Linked DNA regions of Homo sapiens: all the other regions are linked to region 5. The links are contacts of gene promoters, found by promoter capture Hi-C in blood cells and fetal thymus (Javierre and others, 2016). All regions are on one chromosome and are shown on one strand. Each heading gives the region's core, a stretch centred on a gene start or on the middle of the fragment in contact. The rest is flanking DNA. Distances are from core to core; before and after follow the strand shown. Region 1 holds the start of PRH1-TAS2R14 (PRH1-TAS2R14 readthrough). Region 2 overlaps ETV6 (ETS variant transcription factor 6). Region 3 holds the start of ATF7IP (activating transcription factor 7 interacting protein). Region 4 has its middle 8.2 kb from the start of ETV6. Region 5 holds the start of CDKN1B (cyclin dependent kinase inhibitor 1B). Region 6 has its middle 26 kb from the start of LINC01252. Region 7 holds the start of LOC124902876.

Region 1 (2,930 bases), core at 25-2,524, 1.5 Mb before region 5:
GAGATCGAGACCATCCTGGCTAACACGGTGAAACCCCATCTCTACCAAAAAATACAAAAAATTAGCCGGGCATGGTGGCGGGCGCCTGTAGTCCCAGCTACTCAGGAGGCTGAGGCAGGAGAATGGCGTGAACCCGGGAGGCGGAGCTTGCAGTGAGCCGAGATCGCGCCACTGCACTCCAGCCTGGGCGACAGAGCGAGACTCCCGTCTCAAAAACAACAACAAAAAAAGAGTTTGGAAGTACAGAGTAGTATTCCAGCTCTTGGAGCCTAGCCACAGGTTTCACAGATGCATCTCCATGCAGAAATGGCTGAAGCTTCCACAGCTAATCTGAACTTTTTAAGGGTTTACATGGCTGGGAATATAATTTTGTATGTATGTCCTTATGTATATACGCGTGTGTGTCCACTAGTTTTTTGCTTGAATGTTTATCATTCCTGTCACTTGCAATTTAAATATTCCTAATAAATAGAAAAATCCAAAGACTAAGATTGTGATCCTTTTTATGTCTATGGTATATTATGAATACAGAGACCTTGTGCTTTTATTGGCGTAGGAATCATCTTGCCCTAATATTAATATTATGAAATCAAAAGGGTAAGATTCCTAACATCCCACATAACACAGCAGACAAACTAAAGTTTTAATCTAGCTTTGGCCCTTACAAATTTTGTGCCCTACGGCAAGTTACATCTCGCTTAGATTTTTTCATTTTAAAGTGGAACTATCTGCATGGATGTTCGTACATGCTATATAACACATCCTATTCCAGAGCCACCTACCATCAGTTGAGCTCTAAATGGTAAATGCCACAGTGAGAAGCAGACAGGAAGGGGCGGAGCGCCAGCGGCGCCCGGGGCTACGCGCCGCACTGCACCGAGCGGCGGCAGCGGCAAGCTTGGGTGTGAGCCCGGGAGCCGCTTTGCTTACCGTCCTGCCGGTCCCAGCCGTCGCTAGGAGGTCCGCGGGCCCTGCGGCAACCCTCGCTACAGACGCTGGGCGGGCGGCGACACCTGGCTCATGGCCCCCGCGGCGGCTCCGTCCTCCTTGGCCGTCAGGGCCTCAAGCCCCGCCGCGACACCCACCTCGTACGGCGTCTTCTGCAAGGGGCTCTCCCGCACCCTGCTCGCCTTCTTCGAGCTGGCCTGGCAGCTGCGCATGAACTTCCCGTACTTCTACGTCGCGGGCTCGGTGATCCTCAACATCCGATTGCAGGTACATATTTAGAGCCATGACTAAGCTAACGGCCTCCGGGGCCAGCATGATGGCCGACTCCCAGGGTCCGTTGCGGCGCGGCGGAGCAGCCAATGGCGAGCCCCACAGTCTCGCGAGAGTGCTCAGGCGCTCTTCGTGGCTGCCCTCTTAGCTGCTAGCGGAGCTCCTCAGGGGGCGGCCGGGAGCCTACAATCCCTAGAAAGAGAATACGCTGTTCCGGAAACAGAACTGCAGTTAAGACCCTCGAAAACATCTAAGAAAGTGTGCATCCTAAAACACCTGACGAATTTCAGAATGTGACAAAGCGCAGAGGATGCATTATTTCAAAACAAAACAGAAGGCTAAAATTTGCAGGAAAAAGAAAATCAGTAAACCGGGAATCCTCGGACTGGATTGTAAGCAAGATTTCAATGAATAAGAAGCTGAAGGTATTAAGGCTGTGATATAGAAGGTACATATTTCATCCCACAAGAGAAAACAATAATAATCAGAAATTTTCGGTGAAAAAAACGCAAAACTGTACAGGAAAATCATCCTCCAAGTACCAGACATAAAATGCTGCAAGCTTTTGAACTAATGGCGAGAGTGTAAGAAAATGGGCTCTACTTCAGTGATCCTGTGGCAGGACGTGGATCAAGACTTGGAACCGCAGAAAACGAAATCCCATAGTAGCACAAAGCTTGGCTGTTCAGTGAATAACATTTAAATAATCGTAAAATACAAATGTTGTTTATGGTTTTTATTGTTTAAGGGCATACTTAATTATGGTTACAAAGTGGAGTGCAAATGTTATTTACCATGTTTTAAAAATACAGCCGGAAAATACAAGTGGGAATGTTGAAGGAGGGCGGGGGAAGTAAATGGAATGGGGGTTATGTCCTTATAAAGTGGAAACTTGAAAGGTACTGTCTGTTGTTGAGTGGGGAAAGACATTTTTATTACTTACAGGGTAGCCATAAAGTTTCTAAAACGGTAATATATTAAAGAGGGAGAGTGGTAGGGGAGAACAGTATGAAGTCAACAGGAAATGGCTAAAGATGGAGAGCTCAGGTAGAATAGTTTAAAAAATGAAAATTGATAGAGTACCTGGTGTATTTGAATACAGCCTAGAGAGCTTTCATTTTCCAAAGAGTGTGGGGATAAATTAGTGAATGCATATTTTTCAAAATTAAGAAAACAGAACATATAATTTTGAACGCTGAGAAAAATAAAAATTTAAAAACTACACTGTATACACGGTATACCTCAACTGTGAATAATAGTAGTCATGTAAAGTCAGTCATAATTATGTAAATACTGAATACTGATTTTACAACAAATGATTCTATAACGCTGGGAGGATGGGAGAAAAGAGATGTGTGTGTGTGTAATGGTGGTGAGCCAATCAAGATCTGATATAGAAAAATGCAGAAAAAGGAGTATACACATGTTTTCTTCGGATTAAAAAAACTAATAATAAATCACCAAGAGTGGTAAAGTTTTAAATCAAGATCTGATATAGAAAAGTGCAGAAAAAGTAGTATACGCATTTTTTTTTTCAGGAAAAAATTAACTAATAAACCACTAAGAGGGGTAAAGTGTTAAAATAGTTGCATTGTTCTATATTCCACTCATTGTGTCCAGCAAACAGTGTTCTATGGCTTTAAGTAGTAAGCATCTTGCCCCGTCCAACACCATGTCTGGCCTAGGGTAATTGTTCTTTCTAGTCTTTATTC
Region 2 (3,209 bases), core at 202-2,701, 1.1 Mb before region 5:
CTGCTCCTTCATACAGTTGCTTATTATTTGTGACTGGGGTGAGACTTGAAAGAGAGCATCAATTCTCCAGTCTGCTTTTGTTTAACAGGCAGTTCCATGTCTGTCTGACCACAGAACAGACACTGTTTGCTGTGGGCTGGTGAATGTTCACTTTCAAGAGCAGGGAGTAGATGGCCCTTCGTGGAAGTTTAATTATACAGAAGAGTTTGAAAAGGCCAAGTTTGTTACTTTGGGGCATGGGGAAACCTTCCTCTCTAGCAGATGTGAGGGGACCGAAGTGTCTCTTTTCAGCAGTTGTATTCTTCTTGCTGTGGACCTAAATTCGATCCTAAGTCATTCTTTGTATGTACATGGCAGATGAGAAGATGAACTATAGACTGGAAAATAACCCTTTTTTGAGGAATTGTGGAGAAAATGTTACCCACCTGTCCCTCCTACCACCATGCAATAAGTGTGGGCTACTTAATACTCTTGAAGCAAGAGTTTAGGTTTGGAGAGAAACTGCTCCTCTGATCTTCTCCTGGAAACCACAAGTGGAAGTTTGTGATTTTCTTCTCAGCTGCCCTGTCCCCTCTCCCTTGGGTTATGACAGGCCGTGTAACTTTATCTTTCTTAGGACTTATCTCTTTGATGAGGTCAGTAATCCTGCTTCACTTACGTCCCCTATACGTAAGATTGCCATAACCAAAGATGACATGCAGACTCTAAAGCATTTCCTGGAAAAAATGAGCTACAGATAGAAGTAAGGCTCGTAATTTAAAAAATCGAACCCCAGAGAACAGCCTGTCTCTGAAGTTAACCATTCCCCCAGTACTTTCTCTTGTTTCCCTGGTGAAAGTGTGAATCTGGGTTGTGGCAGGGGAAGTTCTGGCACTGCTAAGAGGTGAGGAAGGAAGAGGGAGGGCCCAGAGCTGCCCACCTCACTTGCAGGTGTGGCCTGGAAGAGTGCCGGGGTCTCTAATGAAGAATCAAGTTCAAGGGATGAAGAGGAGTTGGCGAAGGGGCACAAAAATACAGCTAGATAGAAGGAATGTGTTATAGTATTCATTAGTATAATAGGGAAATTAGAGTTAACAATTTATTGTGTATTTCAAAATAACTAGAAGAATTGTACTGTTCCTAACACAAAAGAAAAATGTTTGAGGCAATAGATATGCCAGCTACCCTGATCTGATCATTACACATCTGCACAGATATCAAAATGTCACATGTACCCCCAAAATATGTACAACTATTATATATCAACAAAAAAAATCAAAGAGACAATTTAGAATAAGTATGGTCTCAAGCCTAGTGACTAATATGTGGACAAGTAGATCTGCACTAGGGTATACAGGAGGAAGTATTATGGAGACTTCATAAAAAGGGAGATGGGGCGGGGCGTGGTGGCTCACGCCTGTAATCCCAGCACTTTGGGAGGCCGAGGCGGGTGAATCACCTGAGGTCAGGAGTTCAAGACCAGCCTGGCCAACATGGTGAAACCCTGTCTCTACTACAAAAATTAGCCGGGTGTGGTGGTAGGTGCCTGTAATCCCAGCTACTCGGGAGGCTGAGGCAGGAGAATCTCTTGAACCTGGAAGGTGGAGGTTGCAGTCAGCTGAGGTTGTGCCACTACACTCCAGCCTGGGCGACAGAGTGAGACTCTGTCTCAAAAAAAAAAAAAAAAAAGGGAGATGGGGGACATGGTGGGAATTTGCTAAGCTCTTTTGTTAACTGCTTTAAAGAACTCAGACTAGGGAAGGAAACTTCTCTCAAGTTTATTGCTGGTTGTTATTTCCAGACCATTTGTCTTTCCCAAACTGCCCTTGGCCATCAAATCAGACTCCTGCTAGAGTAAGCCTCATGGTAGTGTCTCTTGGCTCACCTCTGTGGTTTTGCTAATTATTTTCATGTATTGACCTGGGATCACAGACCAGGCACCCAAAGGGACAGAGGTGAGTTCTTTTTCTTTGGGCCTCTTTGGATACTCATAACCCAAGTCCCTGTGACAGGTTTTGGAAAAATGGCACATCTGAAGGATTGGATCCGTGGTGCATTTTGTAATTGCTGTATCCTCTTTTCTTTAAGGTCTTGCTGTGTCACCCATGCTGAACTACAGTGGCGTGATCATAGCTCACCGTAACCTCAAAGTCCTGGGCTCAAGTGATCCTCCTGCCTCAGCCTCTGGAGTAGCTAGGACTACAGGTGCACCACCTTGCCTGGCTACTTTTTTAAAAAACTTTTTGTGGAGACGAGGTCTTGCTTTGTTGCCCAGGTTGCTCTCAGAACTCCTGGGCTCAAGTGATCCTCCCACCTCGGCCTCCCAAACTGCTAGGATTATAGGCATGAACCACTGTGCCCAGCCATTTTGTCCTCATTTTGACTTGAGATCTGGGAGATTTTAAAGATCCGTGTCATGAGTTCACTTGACTGGTGCTTTGCACTTTTGAGACCCGTCACTCTCCTGACTAATAGGTCTTGACGGCCACTAATGGCCAGCAATGGCTGGGAACAGCAGGACACTCTCACTTTGTACCTTTTGATCTGGTCTTTATTCAAAGTGGGGTGAACCCAGTAGGAGAGTTGTTGTTTTGGGGATAAAGTCTGGGTGACAGATTCTTCAGGCTGGGTAAGTCTCCTGTTCTCCCCGACTTTGAGACCTGAATGACCTGATTTGGCTGACTACACCTCCAGTCCCCTGGACAACAGCCAGCTCCTTTGATTTTGTGCCATTTAGTCCTTCCCTTCATCTGCTGACGCTGATACTTTCGGGTGAGGTGGAAGGAGAGAGCATACCTGTTGGTGAGGTAAGAGTGTTTTCCTTCAGAGAACCAAAGAAACAAAGGCTCCCTTTCTGAATTTTGTGTTCTGCCTCTTTGCATTTCTGAGGCTCCTTGTGTCTGGCAGGGCTGTGAGTGAGGAGATGAGGGTGTGCTCCTCTGCAGGCAGAAGTCAGCTGTAGGTCAGATGTGGCTTTGGAACACAATGGAATCCAGGGGGAATGTTGGCGAGCACAGCAAGGCTGGGGTGATGATCCTCTAATCTTTTGCAGCGTGCTGTAAGAGTATCTTTAACTTTCGCCGAGACAGGCAGGGCAATGAGCAAAAGGACCTCGGTGTTAGGTAACATCTCAAGTAGGGCACCTGGTAGTACACCTGTCTTGCATGTTCCCACCCTTCCCAACACTTTATCTTTTTGAAGCCATCTACCCTTAGAAAATGAACAAGGAG
Region 3 (2,873 bases), core at 233-2,732, 1.6 Mb after region 5:
GATCTCCTGACCTCATGGTCTGCCCGCCTCGGCCTCCCAAAGTGCTGGGATTACAGGCGTGAGCCACTGCACCCGGCCCTAGGTGATATTTCTAAAGGCCACCTTATATTTTAAGTAAATTGAATGGTTCCAGTTATAAAAATAAGTATTAACAACCCTATTCTAATTTCTTATTAGTTACAAAAATTTCTTGTTCAGTTTTCTGTCTTCTTCACTAGAGTACAGATTTCTTGAGGACAGGCACCTAACAGATCTACAACACAGTGATTGCTAAATAAATACTGAACCAATACATTCATATAATGAGAAGTTACATAAAAAAACAATAACCACACGGTACCATCTAATATTATTTTCAGGCTATTCTTGCCTTGCAAAACATATGTACTTTTATTCTTTTTTTTTTTTTTTTTTTTTGATAAGGGGTCTTGCTCTGTAGCCCAGGCTGGAGTGCAGTGGTGAGATCTTCGCTCACTGCAATCTCGGCCTCCCAGGTCCCAGTTCAAGCAACTCTCCTGCCTCAGCCTCCTGAGTAGTTGGGATTACAGGCACGCACCACCATGCCTAGCTAATTTTTGTAATTTTAGTAGAGACGGGGTTTCACTATGTTGGCCAGGCTGGTCTTGATCTCCTGACCTCAGGTGATCCACCCCCCCTCAGACTTCCAAAGTGCTGGGATTACAGGCCTGAGCCACGGCACCTGGCCAAAACATATGTACATTTATTCTATCATTTAGTGCTTCCAACCTAGTTCAACTATAGTCATGATTGCCATTATACAGGTGAGAAAACTGAGTAACACACTTATTCCGAGGAACCGGCAAGGAAGCTGCAGTAGTTGAACTTGAACCCAGATCTCTTAACCAGTAAGGCAGTGACTTGTCCACTACCTCCTGTGGAATTCATTAAAGGCCGACTCCCAGCATGAAATTGAATAAATGGGATGAATACAACTTCTGGTGAGAGAGTATGATAAAAAGTGCTTGCTCTGTTACCAAGCAACTGAAAGAAAGTATGTTTTTTTCATTCCTTCATTATTAATACAATTCAAAGTACATTCTGTGAATTTAAAACATAAATGATGAATAAATCAACATACTCCTGGCTTTTATGAAAATCTTTCCCTCTGCTCTTTAAACTCTCACCTACCTCCTTCCTTCTTTCTTTTCTAAGCCTCATAGAGGGCGCTCACAAAGTGCTACTTATTGATTGAGGAAGATCCACTCAAAAAACACACCTCACACTGCAACTGAGAGACGCAGCGCCACCACCTCGGGCTTCCTTCTCTTTTCCACGCAGGAGGCGGGGCCAATGTCCCTCATTCAAATAAAAAACCAGAATTTGCATGGGGAATGGCTAGTCCTTGAGCTTATTGGCTGATAGCACAGTGGGCGGGGTACATAGCACGACCCCCCGGAGCCCCGCCCATATTAATTTGCATAACGGCCCCGGCGCGTGCAAGGGAGAAGCGGGTTTGTTTTTGAATCTGCGGAGGCGGCGGCGGTGGCAGCGGCGGCGCGGCGACTGAAGCGCGCGAAAAGCTGAGGCGGCAACGTCGGGGACGGCTGCGCGGGACGGCTCTGTAGGAAGGAACTTGGTTCCCCCTCCCTCAGCTTCCGCCCCAAAAGGTATATGTGAATCCCAGGGGCTGTTAAAACCACATTTTCTTAAATTACTATTGTATTTCTGAAGAGTCAAGACCGCATTATGGCGGCTGCGGGAGTTGTGTCTGCGCCTGCGCGGTTGCGGAGCTGCGGGCGGCGCTGCATGGGAGCACGTGATCTTGCGGGGTCGGGCTCTAGCTGCAGTTGTGCAGCTGGCGGGGCGGTGGCTGCGCAAGCGCAATATTCATTTTCAAGATCTAATGTTCTTGTTGGACGCCATTTGGGTTCTAGATTTAATTTTCCTCGTTCTTGAGGGGTTTCTTTGTGTTAACCTTAAATTCTCACAATTTTCAAGAAAAACATTACTCTAATGTTGTACTCCTGGGCCGACCTCAAGCTCTTCTCTGTTTTTTCGATTTTTTGAAAAATTGTGGACTTAATTTTCTGTAAAAATGATTTTCATTTGTGGTTCTTGATTATAATTTCAGTTTTAAAGTATTACTGGATTCAGGTTTATATTTACGGTGGTAAAGATCAGCACCTAGTGGTGTTCTCACGGGAAGTGCATTTATTTGAACTGCATATTTGCAAATACATTTTTAACCCTATTTTTACCTGTTCTGTTATGGATGTGTGGAATGTTTACAAAACAGAAACAATTTTAGTTTTGGGAATATTGGGGGAACGGGAATAGTGGAAGAAATTACAGTATAATCGAAAATGAAATCTCAATCTGAGGATTATTTTGGTTTTAAATGTTTGATCCTAAGTAAATAAAGTTTTAATTTTAATCAGTTTGTATGTTTCTGGGCATTTGAATTTTACATGTTTTAAGTTTCTTAGGTGACTTGTTCATTACTGCTTCAGCTAGATTATTGTTACTTTTGAAATTAATCAACTCATTTTCTTAGCATTTTTGTTTGCTATGATATGTAAGCTATAACATTTATTTGGTAAATTTTTCTGATGAAGAATTCTAGAAAGAACATCCATTACCCTGAGGCCTCTTTGAAGAAAGTGGACCATTAATAAAAAAAATCTGTTTTTTTCTTTTAAACACTGTACTGTATGCATGTGTGTAAGATACAGTTGTGTTTGATTTTTTAATTGTAAGTGTGCTCCTGGTTTTATTAATAGTTTTTTAGGGAAGGTAATTATAAATATGCTACTGATTAGTTTAAAATGGTAGTGTCAACTATAGTTAAATCTTATGTAACACAATTGGGGGAAGTTATATAAGATTTGATATGATTCTCCCGTTGTGCAAAT
Region 4 (2,877 bases), core at 289-2,788, 1.1 Mb before region 5:
GGTATCCACCAGACCCACTATGAGTTGCACTCAGGCCAAAACCTCCACTTATTTCCTGACCTCTTAAGGCCCTACTGTGACTGGTGCACCACAGTGACATTTTGGGTTTCTAGGAACAGTGCTAGTGTGCAGCAGTCCTCCCAAAGTCTACTTATTTCCCCTCCCACAAGGTACAATCACACTGATAAGTGGCCACAGATCCCTTTGGGAAAGGATAGTAAGATTTACAATACATTTTTTGCAGTCTAGCAGCATTCTTCCACAAAAGGCCTTGCTTCCCCTTGATTCAAGGGGCTCTGTGTCTATGGACTAGATCAGGTGTGGCAATCAATCAGCTGAGGATCCGGGACTGCTCTGGAATTTAACTCAAGACTTTTCTACTCCACACCTAGAACTTTTTTTGTGTGTATATAAATCAAGTAAGGCTTTAGTAACCCATCATTTTATTTTATTTTATTTTTGAGACAGAGTCTCGGTCTGTCTCTCAGACTGGAGTGCAGTCGCCCATTCTTGGCTCACTGCAACCTCCAACTCTCAGGTTCCAGTGATTCTCCCACCTCAACTTCCCAAGTAGCTGGGATTACAGGCCCGCGCCACCATGCCTGGCTAATTTTTTGGTTTTTTTTAGTAGAGACAGAGTTTCACCATGTTGGCCAGGCTGGTCTCAGACTCCTGACCTCAAGTGATCTCCCCACTTCGACCTTAATTCTAGGGATATCAAAATAAATTAGCCAACACCAAAGATCAAACCATTCTGATTATCACTTTAGTTCTGCTGTCCATTATTACAACCATGTTTCTCTTGTCCCTAGCAGTAAAGATAGTTACGTGATGTCACTTGGTGCCTCTGTTCCAGTATCCCACTATCCCCAGTGAATTGTGGGATGGTGGCAACATTAATGGCTTACAGAGAATGGCTACTATAGAACTCCAAAAGGGTTCTGGTGTTTGCTTCAGCAATGCTTTCTTTCTCTCTTTCTCTTTCTTCCTTTCTTTCTTTCCCTCTTTTCCCCTCTCCCCTCCCTCCCCCTCCCCTCCTCTCTCCTTTCCTTTCCCTCTTCTTGCTTTCTTTCTTTTCTGTCTCTGGCTCTCTCTCTCTTTTCTTTCTAGTGATGAGCCCCTAACTCTGTTGCACAGGTCGGAGTTCAGTGCCAAAATCATAGCTCACTGCAGCCTTGAAATCATGGGTTTAAGCGATCCTTCCACCTCAGTGTCCTGAGTAACTGGGACTACATATGTGCACCAACCTGCCCAGCAACAATGCATTTCTTAAAGCTTTGATTAAAGGAGACCCTCCCAGGTCCTAACGAAGGGATCTTACACAATAAATCCACTCCAGCATACTGTCTGCTTATCTTTTGGATACCTTCTGTTTATAGCAATGGGAGAAGAATTCATGAAAGATGTAGTTTTCAGGTACTACTTAACAGAAAACAAATGGTTTCGTAGTGTGTGTGTGTGTGTGTGTGTGTTTGTGTGAATTTTGAATATGAACAAGGACTAAAAATAGAAATTGGAATAATGAAGTAAGGATTGTGATGGTTAATTTTATGTGTCAAATTGACTGGGCCAAGATGGCCAAGTAGCTGGTAAAATACTACTTTAAGTGTGTTTGTGAGGGTGTTTCTGGAAGAGATTAGCATTGGAATCAATAGGCCGAGTAAAAATACTGCCTTCACCGGTGTGGGTAAGTGTCATCCAACCCATTGAGAGCCCTAATAGAACAAAAGGGTGGAGGAAGGGCAAATTCTGTCTTCCTCTTCTTGAGCTGGGACATCTGTCTTTTTCTGACCTCAGACATTGAAGCTTTTAGTGCTCAGACCTTCAGCCTTGAACTGGGAGTTACACCATTGGCTCCTCTCCTTCTCAGGCCCTTGGACTCAGACTCAGACTCAATTATACCACCAGTTTCCTGGTTCCCCAGCTTGCAGATGGCACATCTTGGGACTTTTTAATCTCCATAATTGCACAAACCAATTCCCATAATAAATCTCCTCTTATGTATCTATCTATTTATCCATCCATCTATATCCTATTGATTCTGTTTCTCTAGAGAAACCTAATATAGTGTTTTAGCAGAGACGAAAGATTCAATAGTGAAAATGAACTACACAATTTGGTGGTGGAAAAAGGGACATGGCAAGAATCCAAACCAGAAAATTGTTACTTCTAGAAAGATAACTGGAAATATAGAGGAGAATCTGTGAATAAAACAGAAAAAGTTGGCAACAGGCAATATATGAAGCATAGAAGAGATCAATATGTCAAAACTTATTCTGAGGTTCATTAATTCAAAGGTTAACAATATGGTGGCATTGGTAAGAAAGGTGGCGAAGCCATAAAGAGAAAACATATGGAAGACAGTAGTTTGAAGGTCAGGTAGAAAAAGATGTGACAAAAATTGTGAAATATTCTAAAAATATAGCTGCCAAAGAGTGGGCTGATGGAAAGTTGATTAGTATATGCAGTGACTTTATAATGTGACAACTTGGCTAGGTTGAACTACATTCCCAGAATTCCCTTTATGATTCTAGTTATGGTGGGCCACAGAGGGAGAGTCTGGAGTGATTTGGAGGGTAGATATAAAGCAGCAAACATTTTTTTAGCTCATGCACATGGTCATTTAACTGTTGGCTCACCTCATGGGGATGAGCCAGTGACTGGGGCTGCAACTACTCCACCTTTAACATGATCCTTCTTCAGCTTCTGCAACTCCTGGGCCGGGTATGTGGGTGTTTAGTTCTGTGGCAAAGGACTCCAGCTCGTGTGGAACACCCAGGCCATCAAGGTCAGAGGCAATGAGAATTAATATGGGTTTTGGTTCACTCTCACGAGATCCACTTCATGCTTTTGAGTTCTAGCTTATAATTTGTTTCA
Region 5 (3,104 bases), core at 605-3,104:
AAGACAGCTGCATTTAAATATCAGTGACCACAGGCCACATCAAGGAAACATCTGCAGGCAACCCAGGGCCTGGGAAGGAGCCATTTTCAGTCACTTGTAAGACAGCAGGACCTGCAGACTACAGCACAATCAAACTCAGACAAAACCCTGAACCAGTGAGAACCATTAGGAAGGAAAGGAACAGAAAATGAACCAACCTGAGTGTTAGGAGACTTGCATCTAGTCCTGACTCCGGTACCAACCGAATGCATGTCCCTGGACAGGAAACCTCTCTGAGTCTCGATTTCCTCCGTGGTAAAAAGGAGAGGGTTAAACCACAGGGTCCCGAGGGTCCCTTCCAGCTGTCACATTCTGGAGCGTATGAGATGAGGTAGGCACACAAAGTGGACAAGATGTGGCTAAGAAAACAAGCTACACATCAAGCTCATCTGTAGCATAGGTGCTTAAGAAAACTTTGCTGCTGTGTAATATTAGAACGGAAGGTTGGTTTCCAGTAAAATGCATTAACTTTGGCTCAAACCAAGATGATGGGTACCGGGCATGGGGGTGGGGAGGCAGTTGAAGATCCACTGAGCTTTGTCTCAGGGCAGCCCTGCTCATCGTCCTACTTTACCTTCCACCACGGTGCTCAAGCCCACACTGAGAGAGAAATTTCCAGCTGCAAAAGGGAGAAGAGAAACGCTGGAATACTAGTATCGGACGTTAGGACATGGTTGTGGTGTTTTAAAAATCATTTCATCATCTGGAGTTTGACCCCGAGGGGAGTATTTTCACCCTTCAGCCCTCTGAAAGCATTCACTAGCATCTGAATATTGTTCTGAGTTTGTTGGAGCAGTGAAATCTGGTGAGAGAGAAGGGTGGAGGAAGGAAGGAGCTGTTGTATTTGGCGGCTGGACTCAGGTAGAGGAAACTGCTACAATCCCGGGAAAGAACAGAAAAGTAGAAAGGGACGAGTTCCCACACGCAGCCAATGTCCATGGCCTTAACTGTGCTTGGGAAGGAAGATCCTGGGCCAGGGGTGTACCCTCGTTTTTCAAAACTAAACGTGTCTGAGACAGCTACAAAGTTTATTAAGGGACTTGAGAGACTAGAGTTTTTTGTTTTTTTTTTTTAATCTTGAGTTCCTTTCTTATTTTCATTGAGGGAGAGCTTGAGTTCATGATAAGTGCCGCGTCTACTCCTGGCTAATTTCTAAAAGAAAGACGTTCGCTTTGGCTTCTTCCCTAGGCCCCCAGCCTCCCCAGGGATGGCAGAAACTTCTGGGTTAAGGCTGAGCGAACCATTGCCCACTGCCTCCACCAGCCCCCAGCAAAGGCACGCCGGCGGGGGGGCGCCCAGCCCCCCCAGCAAACGCTCCGCGGCCTCCCCCGCAGACCACGAGGTGGGGGCCGCTGGGGAGGGCCGAGCTGGGGGCAGCTCGCCACCCCGGCTCCTAGCGAGCTGCCGGCGACCTTCGCGGTCCTCTGGTCCAGGTCCCGGCTTCCCGGGCGAGGAGCGGGAGGGAGGTCGGGGCTTAGGCGCCGCGGCGAACCCGCCAACGCAGCGCCGGGCCCCGAACCTCAGGCCCCGCCCCAGGTTCCCGGCCGTTTGGCTAGTTTGTTTGTCTTAATTTTAATTTCTCCGAGGCCAGCCAGAGCAGGTTTGTTGGCAGCAGTACCCCTCCAGCAGTCACGCGACCAGCCAATCTCCCGGCGGCGCTCGGGGAGGCGGCGCGCTCGGGAACGAGGGGAGGTGGCGGAACCGCGCCGGGGCCACCTTAAGGCCGCGCTCGCCAGCCTCGGCGGGGCGGCTCCCGCCGCCGCAACCAATGGATCTCCTCCTCTGTTTAAATAGACTCGCCGTGTCAATCATTTTCTTCTTCGTCAGCCTCCCTTCCACCGCCATATTGGGCCACTAAAAAAAGGGGGCTCGTCTTTTCGGGGTGTTTTTCTCCCCCTCCCCTGTCCCCGCTTGCTCACGGCTCTGCGACTCCGACGCCGGCAAGGTTTGGAGAGCGGCTGGGTTCGCGGGACCCGCGGGCTTGCACCCGCCCAGACTCGGACGGGCTTTGCCACCCTCTCCGCTTGCCTGGTCCCCTCTCCTCTCCGCCCTCCCGCTCGCCAGTCCATTTGATCAGCGGAGACTCGGCGGCCGGGCCGGGGCTTCCCCGCAGCCCCTGCGCGCTCCTAGAGCTCGGGCCGTGGCTCGTCGGGGTCTGTGTCTTTTGGCTCCGAGGGCAGTCGCTGGGCTTCCGAGAGGGGTTCGGGCTGCGTAGGGGCGCTTTGTTTTGTTCGGTTTTGTTTTTTTGAGAGTGCGAGAGAGGCGGTCGTGCAGACCCGGGAGAAAGATGTCAAACGTGCGAGTGTCTAACGGGAGCCCTAGCCTGGAGCGGATGGACGCCAGGCAGGCGGAGCACCCCAAGCCCTCGGCCTGCAGGAACCTCTTCGGCCCGGTGGACCACGAAGAGTTAACCCGGGACTTGGAGAAGCACTGCAGAGACATGGAAGAGGCGAGCCAGCGCAAGTGGAATTTCGATTTTCAGAATCACAAACCCCTAGAGGGCAAGTACGAGTGGCAAGAGGTGGAGAAGGGCAGCTTGCCCGAGTTCTACTACAGACCCCCGCGGCCCCCCAAAGGTGCCTGCAAGGTGCCGGCGCAGGAGAGCCAGGATGTCAGCGGGAGCCGCCCGGCGGCGCCTTTAATTGGGGCTCCGGCTAACTCTGAGGACACGCATTTGGTGGACCCAAAGACTGATCCGTCGGACAGCCAGACGGGGTTAGCGGAGCAATGCGCAGGAATAAGGAAGCGACCTGCAACCGACGGTAATGACCCTTTCCCAACCATAGAATGTGTTTGGGGCCCCGCTTTGCCTGCTGGAGGGTGTTAACCTTAGCTTGCTTTTCGGCGTATTCTGATTTAGCTTTGGGAGAGCTAACTTTATTGGTCTTAGGTGTTCAGTGCTACCTGGCCCACTGCTTGTCTGTTTGTGACTTTTAAGTCAGAAACTGGAGATGGTAAGATCCGATAATTTCCCTAACTTAATACATCGCGGTCCCTCTCACTAGCAACTCCTAGGTATGTGACAAAGTTGGGATGTTTATCAACGGTCCGCCTCCTGGCTAGGG
Region 6 (3,059 bases), core at 145-2,644, 1.1 Mb before region 5:
GATTCTGGCAATATCTTGAGTATCATTCTTAATTTTAATATTGATGCAAGTTTTTATGTTTCCTCTTTATTAGGGTATATATTTCAAGAAATTGAAAAAAGACACTTTTGGCATCTGGCTATAACTCATTTTTTAAAAAACAGAAAGGCATCCTTTTTTTTTATTTATTTAATTGAGATAGGGTCCCATTCTGTCACCCAGGCTGGAGTGCAATCACAGCTTACTGCAGCCTTGATCTCCTGAGCTCAAGCTATTCTCCTGCCTCAGCCTCCAGAGTAGCTGGGACTACAGGGACACACAGCCATGCCAGGCTAATTTTTTTTTTTTTTTTTTTTTTTTTTTTAGAGATGAGGTTTTGCTGTGTTTCGCAAGCTGGTCTCAAACTCCTGGGCTCAGGTGACCCTCCTGCTTTGGCTTCCCAAAGTGCTGGGATTACAGGCATGAGCCACTGTGCCTGGCCTATTATTTGTTTTTACCAAAGTTATATACATAAGCACATATAATCAAAAACATCATTACTACTATTATTTTGAACAAATGATTATCTGCTAGATCAAGTAAGGCTAAGAAAAATCAAAGATTTTATTTTGCTTTAATTTACTCATTCTCTGGTACATTTCCTTTCTTTGTGTAGATCCAGGTTTCTGACCTTGATTATTCTCCTTGTCACTAAAGAACTTCTTTTAATTTTTCTGGCTGGGCACGGTGGCTCACGCCTGTAATCCCAGCACTTTGGGAGGCCAAGGTGGGAGGATCACCTGAGGTCAGGAGTTCAAGACCAACCTGACCAACATGGAGAAACCTCATCTCTACTAAAAATACAAAATTAGCCGGGCGTGGTGGCGCATGCCTGTAATCCCAGCTACTCGGGAGGCTGAGGCAGGAGATTGCTTGAACCTGGAGGCGGAGTTTGCAGTGAGCCGAGATCACGCCACTGCACTCCAGCCTGGGCAATAAGAGTGAAACTCTGTCTCAAAAAAAAAAAAAAAACAACAACTTTCTTTGAAGGCAGGCCTACCAGCAACAGTTTCCCTCATTTTTTTGTTTGTATGAGAAAGCCTTTATTTCTCCCTCATTTTTGAAGGATAATTTTACAGGGCATAGAATTTTAAGTCGGTAGGATTTTTTCCTCTCACCGTGTTTAGTATTTGATTCCACTCTCTTCTTATTTACATGGTTTCCATGGAGAAGTCAGCTGTAATTCTAAACTTTGCTCCTCTATAGGTAAGGTGTTTCTTTCCTCTGTTTTCTTTCAGGATTTTTTCTTTATCTTTCTGAAGCTTGAAAATGATATGCCTAGGTGTCTTTTTTTTTTTTCTTTTGGCATTTTTCCAGCTTTATGTTCTCTGAGCTTCCTGGGTCTGCAGTTTGGTGTCTGACAAGTGTTTGGGAAAATTCTCAGTCATTATTGCTTCAAATATTTCTTCTGTTATTTTCTCTCTTATCCTGATATGTTACACATTTTGTAGTTATCCCACAGTTCTTAGATATTCTATTCTGGGTTTTTTTGAAGCTTTTTTCTTTTTGCTTTTCAGTCTTGGAAGTTTCTGTTGACATATCTTCAAGTTCCAAGATTCTTTCTTCAGCCATGTCCAGTCTCCTGATGAGCCCACTGAAGGCATTTTTCATTTCAGTTACAGTGTTTTTGAGCTCTGGCATTTTTTAAATTCTTTCTTAGAATTTCCATCTCTGTGCCTATATGATCCATCTGTTATTTTAATCAAAATTATACATGCACAGAGGTACCTGGTGACACCAATTCTTTTGCCATAATCTCTTTTTCACATTGTGTAACTTGGTCCTGAATTAGAGATTTCTCTCTCTTTCACAAGCATAATGTCAGATTCTATAGTTTTCAAGAAACTTCAGAATGTCTTTGTGAGAACAGTGAGAGAGTTTGTTCTCATTCTAGCCAAGAAAAAAAAAGATACTAAATATCAACACTAAAACTGAAAACACAGCACCAAGCAATTTAGAGAATTTGATTAATTTTGTACATTAAACTATGCTGCTCTATTAGTTCTTCCTTACCACTCTTTTCATGAATTATATTGCAATCCTATATTCTATTATTGGCCATCTGGATGAAATTATAAATTATAATAAAAAGAATCCTTGATGAAGGGTCATGCACATTTTTATTTCTGTATCTACTTTAAATGTGTTAATACTATAGAGTTGCAGAAATTTGAAGTAATTTTAAATTGCTCTTATGGACAAAACCCTAAGCCTCCACTACTTTGCAATGATGGAAAAGGCCACAGAGCACTTTGAAAAATCATACTTTTATCCCCATTATCTCAGCCAAATGTGAACTGTGGCAAACATCATGTACCTGCAAGCTTCTCTCCACCTATAAGGCCCCTGTCTTCTTCACATGCTACCCTTTCTACCTGGGTGTGAGCATCAATGGTCTGGAGTCATAACTTCTGGGAGCAGGTCTGCTTTTGATCAACTATACCACTCACAAGATTTTATGTGCTTGGTTCTCTTCAACTATGCAAATAGTAGATCAACTAACAACTGTTCCAGCCATAAAGATGAAATCCTCTTCATTCTTACATTCTCTTATAATTGACAAAGTATTGAAATACTTAGTGATGCTCTACTGCTACTACAATAGCTAGATAGACCTTTTGTTCCATCATTAGTTGATTCCCCTCCATTCTGGGCCTGTTTTCATTAAGTTTTCCTTATATAATATGAGGAAACTGTGAAGCATGATTTCTCAATCTCATTATCAGCACTCTTGACATCTGGGGCTGTAAAATTCTTTGTTATGTAGGGCTGCCCTGTGCATCATAGCATCTCTGATCTCTGCCCACTAGATGCCAGTACCACTCCCCCAACTTCTAGTGTGACAACCAAAAATGTCTCCAGACATTGCCAAATGTCCCCAGGGAGTGAGGGGTAAAATTACCCTCAAACCCCAAATAAAAACCACTGTTGTAAAGAAAACTTAAATGTTATAATGTATATAAAGGGGACTCACAAACTATGCAGTTTAGGAATTATTATATTTTTAATGTTTTTTGTCAATGTGTTGTAGAAGAATATGA
Region 7 (3,005 bases), core at 506-3,005, 2.0 Mb before region 5:
TAGATTACCTTAAAGAAAAAATAAAGAAAAAAGCCTCAGTAGAGAATGAAAGTAATTATTAACATCAATCCATACTGTCTTTTCATAAGATACAAAGTTTATAATTTCCAAGGATAAACAATAAGGCTTCACTTTTAAATTCAAAACTAAAATAGTAATTAAGACTTGCTCTGTTGTAGGCAGGGGTAGTTCTGAAGTTTGCTAGACTGATACACTTGGGAAAATACTTTAGCTCTCTTTGTTGGGGGAAAGAAAATCCAAAACAAAAAAAACATGTCTTTATATCTCCAAAGTTATGCAGTCTACACTGATGAGGCATTCTCCAGCTTTAATTCCAAAGATCTCTCATCTCTCCAAAGGAGAGATCAAACCCAGGCCATCTTACGTTTGAGGCCACTCTGATTGGAGCAGCAAGGCAAAGGAGAAAAAAACAGTTGATGTTTTCGATGCAAATGTACACAGTAGAGGCCTGTTTTTGATACATTATATGCATTTAAGTCAGGCAATATTCCAAATAATATGCGTTTAGTGCCTCTTTTCATTTGCCCAAAAAATTAATTACCTGGGAAAATATAAAGACTGGAACTGTTTTTAATATCTAGCATTGTTGAAGGAATAATCTTGATTAAAATGACAATACTAATAATAAAGGAAAAAGATGATAAATAATTCTCAGGTCTAACCTCAATCCAAGCTGAAGGTTATTTTTACTCTCCAATGTAGTTTAAAAAAGTTTCGTAATTCCGCAAATACTTCTCCAAGGACTTCTTATGATCAAATTCATTCCCACGTCTTGCTTTAAACCATAAACCCACTTCATATACACTAAGGGGAAGGGTTGGGGAGGAAGACCATAGATTTCCATAACATTTATCAGAAGGAAAATTTTTTTGCACTCATGAAAACTATTTTTCCTGGCCTATGTGCTTATAAACTCAAGTGAAGGCCCATTTGCAAATACTAGAACATATCCATTTTAGTCAGCATTGTGCCTAGTACATCTTAGGCATCTATGTGTTTGCTTGGCAAAGGAAAGGGGATGGCAGGACACACTAGACAGAGACAAACAGTGTTGAGGTGTCACGTAGAAAGGGCTGTCCTTCATTTTTAGAGAGACGCAGTAAGAGTGGAAAGATAAAAGGCATCAGACTCATCACCAGGGATCTGCAGAGGCAGTTGCTTGAGGAAATTAACCTTCATTTATCTGTTTCCTTCATCTTTAAAGATAGTATCTGCTTTCCCAATCTCAGAACAGTACAGGATTAAGTGAAAAACCGCAAAAGCTTTCTACAAAATAAGGTATCATTAACAATGTTATCCTAACACTGCTTTGGAGAACACAAGGTTTTCTCTCTCAGACATCTGGCAGAAAGTGTTCCAAGAAATATTTGCTAGAAACAACATCACAATGTACTACTGACTAGATTTAAGCAACTTTTAGTCCAGCAAAATCAGGCCTATTTTGTTTCTTAACCTACACAGGTTACAATTAGCATGTTGTTTGGTAGGGACTTAGTAAAAGCCCTAGAAAAAAAAAACAAGAAAATAGTCCTCTCAAGGTGGGGAATATTGAATACACTTCTCTCACATTGCTCCCTCAACTTTCTTCCCAAAGGGGAAGTAGGGCTCAGAGAGATGAGACAAACATGCCCCACCCCAAATAGTGAAGAGGTCTCCGAAGCATCCTACACCATCTGTTAACGTTCCTGTTTATAAGAGCGAACGATATGGACACACACCCTTTAGGGAGGTTATTCACCACCCACCTGCTTTGCAAGCGTTTAAGAACTCACACAGGGGCGTTACTTACGAAAAGAACGCTTGTTATGTGACTAAACCAACAACCATCACAGAAACCCTTTCCATCCACTGCCCCCCCAAATCTCAACATTTCATCTTCCTGTTTCCCTTCCTACGTTACAAGTGCCAAGGTAACAATGTTTTGAACTAACGTCATACCCCCACTTCCGACAAAGTTTTTTCAGCTGCTACACCACGTGCGTTCCCACAGTCCGGGAAGAGGGAAGCGTGTAGCCATTGGTGGACACTGAATGGCTGTTTGCAGCCGTGGGCACAGAGAGGGGGAGGAAGACGTGGGACTAAGACCCAAGTTTCCCGGAGACGATTGCAACATCTCTTTGCTGGCATGTGGCCAACAGGAGCATGGCGTCTTTCCCATGCCCATGTGGGAAGGGCGTCAGGGACAGACACCTGACCCTTCCTGGCAAGAAGCTTTTCTATCTTTCCCTCCCCGTCTCCTTCTAGCGCCCTCCTCTTCCCCAAAGGAAATGCTCTCCTTTCCCAGATCCCAAGCAAGGACCCCAAAGCGCCAGGCCCACGTGTCGGTCCTTCCCCTACATCCATCCCTACCCAAGGTCCCCTCTCCCAGACTGCCTCTCCTTTCTTCTCCAAACGCAGGCATTTTCCACCACGCGAATCCGCAACAGTGCCCGTCTGGGAGACAGAAGTTAAGACCTAAACTTTCTGGCCCGGAACCAGAAGGGAGATGCACACGGCCGCCAGGAGCGCAGGGCGCAGCGCGCTCACCTGGGAGCGCCGGCAAGGGAGGCGGCCAGCGCTGGGGACCCGGAGACCCCTGGGGACCCGGAGATCCCTGGGGACCCTGTGCTGTCAGCGTCTCCAGCCCGGGTGGGAGATGTAGCGCGAGCTGCCCACACGTGCTCCGCGGCCGGCTGGGCCCGCCCCACTACGGCAGCCCCTGCCCTCCCTGGCCTGACTCACCGAGAACTTTTTTCTCCGCGTCTTCGCTGCCGGCGGCGGTGGCTAAAGAGGCGGCGGCCGCGGTGCCCGTGGCTGCGGGGGCCGCGTCCCCACCGGGGTTTCCTGCGACGTGGGCGGCGGGCGCCGGGGCCGCGGCCTGGGGCGCACCGCTGCCCACCGGGCTCTTGGGCGCGGGGTCCTGGGGAGCCGCGGCGGCCGCCTCCGTCGGAGCCTGCGGGAGGGTGGTGGTGGTGGTGGTGGTGGCCTCGCCCGCCTCACTCATG

Evidence for each region. The method cuts DNA at HindIII sites, captures the fragments that hold promoters and counts their contacts. A CHiCAGO score of 5 or more calls a contact.
Region 1: the fragment with the promoter of PRH1-TAS2R14 here is called in contact with the fragment with the promoter of CDKN1B in region 5 in 1 of 17 cell types (fetal thymus); the score reaches 9.3 in fetal thymus.
Region 2: a contact is called between a fragment that was not itself captured here and the fragment with the promoter of CDKN1B in region 5, in 1 of 17 cell types (neutrophils). The highest score is 6.4, in neutrophils.
Region 3: the fragment with the promoter of ATF7IP here is called in contact with the fragment with the promoter of CDKN1B in region 5 in 1 of 17 cell types (activated CD4 T cells); the score reaches 5.3 in activated CD4 T cells.
Region 4: a contact is called between a fragment that was not itself captured here and the fragment with the promoter of CDKN1B in region 5, in 1 of 17 cell types (fetal thymus). The highest score is 6.3, in fetal thymus.
Region 6: a contact is called between a fragment that was not itself captured here and the fragment with the promoter of CDKN1B in region 5, in 2 of 17 cell types (M0 macrophages and naive CD4 T cells). The highest score is 6.9, in M0 macrophages.
Region 7: a contact is called between a fragment that was not itself captured here and the fragment with the promoter of CDKN1B in region 5, in 3 of 17 cell types (total CD8 T cells, naive CD8 T cells and M0 macrophages). The highest score is 8.8, in total CD8 T cells.

The regions. Positions count from the first base shown.
Region 1 is chr12:11,170,337-11,173,266 of GRCh38, forward strand. It overlaps PRH1-TAS2R14 (PRH1-TAS2R14 readthrough), which reads right to left and starts at 1,275. Exons shown (of 5, transcript NM_001316893.2): 1 at 1,086-1,275. It overlaps SMIM10L1 (small integral membrane protein 10 like 1), which reads left to right and starts at 858. Exons shown (of 1, transcript NM_001271592.2): 1 at 858-2,930. The coding sequence starts at 1,021. The coding sequence ends at 1,227. It overlaps PRH1-PRR4 (PRH1-PRR4 readthrough), which reads right to left and starts at 1,289. Exons shown (of 10, transcript NR_037918.2): 1 at 1,086-1,289. It also overlaps a transcript of PRH1 not described here. The HindIII fragment of the contact is 883 bases long and covers 896-1,778 here.
Region 2 is chr12:11,658,949-11,662,157 of GRCh38, forward strand. The region is part of intron 1 of ETV6 (ETS variant transcription factor 6); the gene reads left to right. Among named protein-coding and RNA genes, the nearest start is that of ETV6, 11 kb to the left of the region's middle. The HindIII fragment of the contact is 5,715 bases long and covers 1-3,209 here.
Region 3 is chr12:14,364,200-14,367,072 of GRCh38, forward strand. It overlaps ATF7IP (activating transcription factor 7 interacting protein), which reads left to right and starts at 1,483. Exons shown (of 15, transcript NM_018179.5): 1 at 1,483-1,628. LOC124902884 (a long non-coding RNA gene) reads right to left here. Exons shown (of 2, transcript XR_007063220.1): 1 at 1,150-2,873. RefSeq lists enhancers at 1,064-1,881, 1,113-1,172, 1,643-1,702. The HindIII fragment of the contact is 10,385 bases long and covers 1-2,873 here.
Region 4 is chr12:11,639,996-11,642,872 of GRCh38, forward strand. No RefSeq gene overlaps it. Among named protein-coding and RNA genes, the nearest start is that of ETV6, 8.2 kb to the right of the region's middle. The HindIII fragment of the contact is 531 bases long and covers 1,274-1,804 here.
Region 5 is chr12:12,715,514-12,718,617 of GRCh38, forward strand. CDKN1B (cyclin dependent kinase inhibitor 1B) reads left to right here and starts at 1,855. Exons shown (of 3, transcript NM_004064.5): 1 at 1,855-2,801. The coding sequence starts at 2,327. It also overlaps a transcript of GPR19 not described here. RefSeq lists silencers at 1,239-1,808, 2,233-2,421 and enhancers at 1,829-1,878, 1,959-2,058. The HindIII fragment of the contact is 7,251 bases long and covers 1-3,104 here.
Region 6 is chr12:11,572,866-11,575,924 of GRCh38, forward strand. No RefSeq gene overlaps it. Among named protein-coding and RNA genes, the nearest start is that of LINC01252, 26 kb to the left of the region's middle. The HindIII fragment of the contact is 233 bases long and covers 1,279-1,511 here.
Region 7 is chr12:10,720,108-10,723,112 of GRCh38, forward strand. YBX3 (Y-box binding protein 3) reads right to left here. Exons shown (of 10, transcript NM_003651.5): 1 at 2,743-3,005. The coding sequence starts at 3,004. LOC124902876 reads left to right here and starts at 2,945. Exons shown (of 2, transcript XM_047429946.1): 1 at 2,945-3,005. The coding sequence starts at 3,003. RefSeq lists silencers at 2,462-2,861, 2,992-3,005. The HindIII fragment of the contact is 949 bases long and covers 1,282-2,230 here.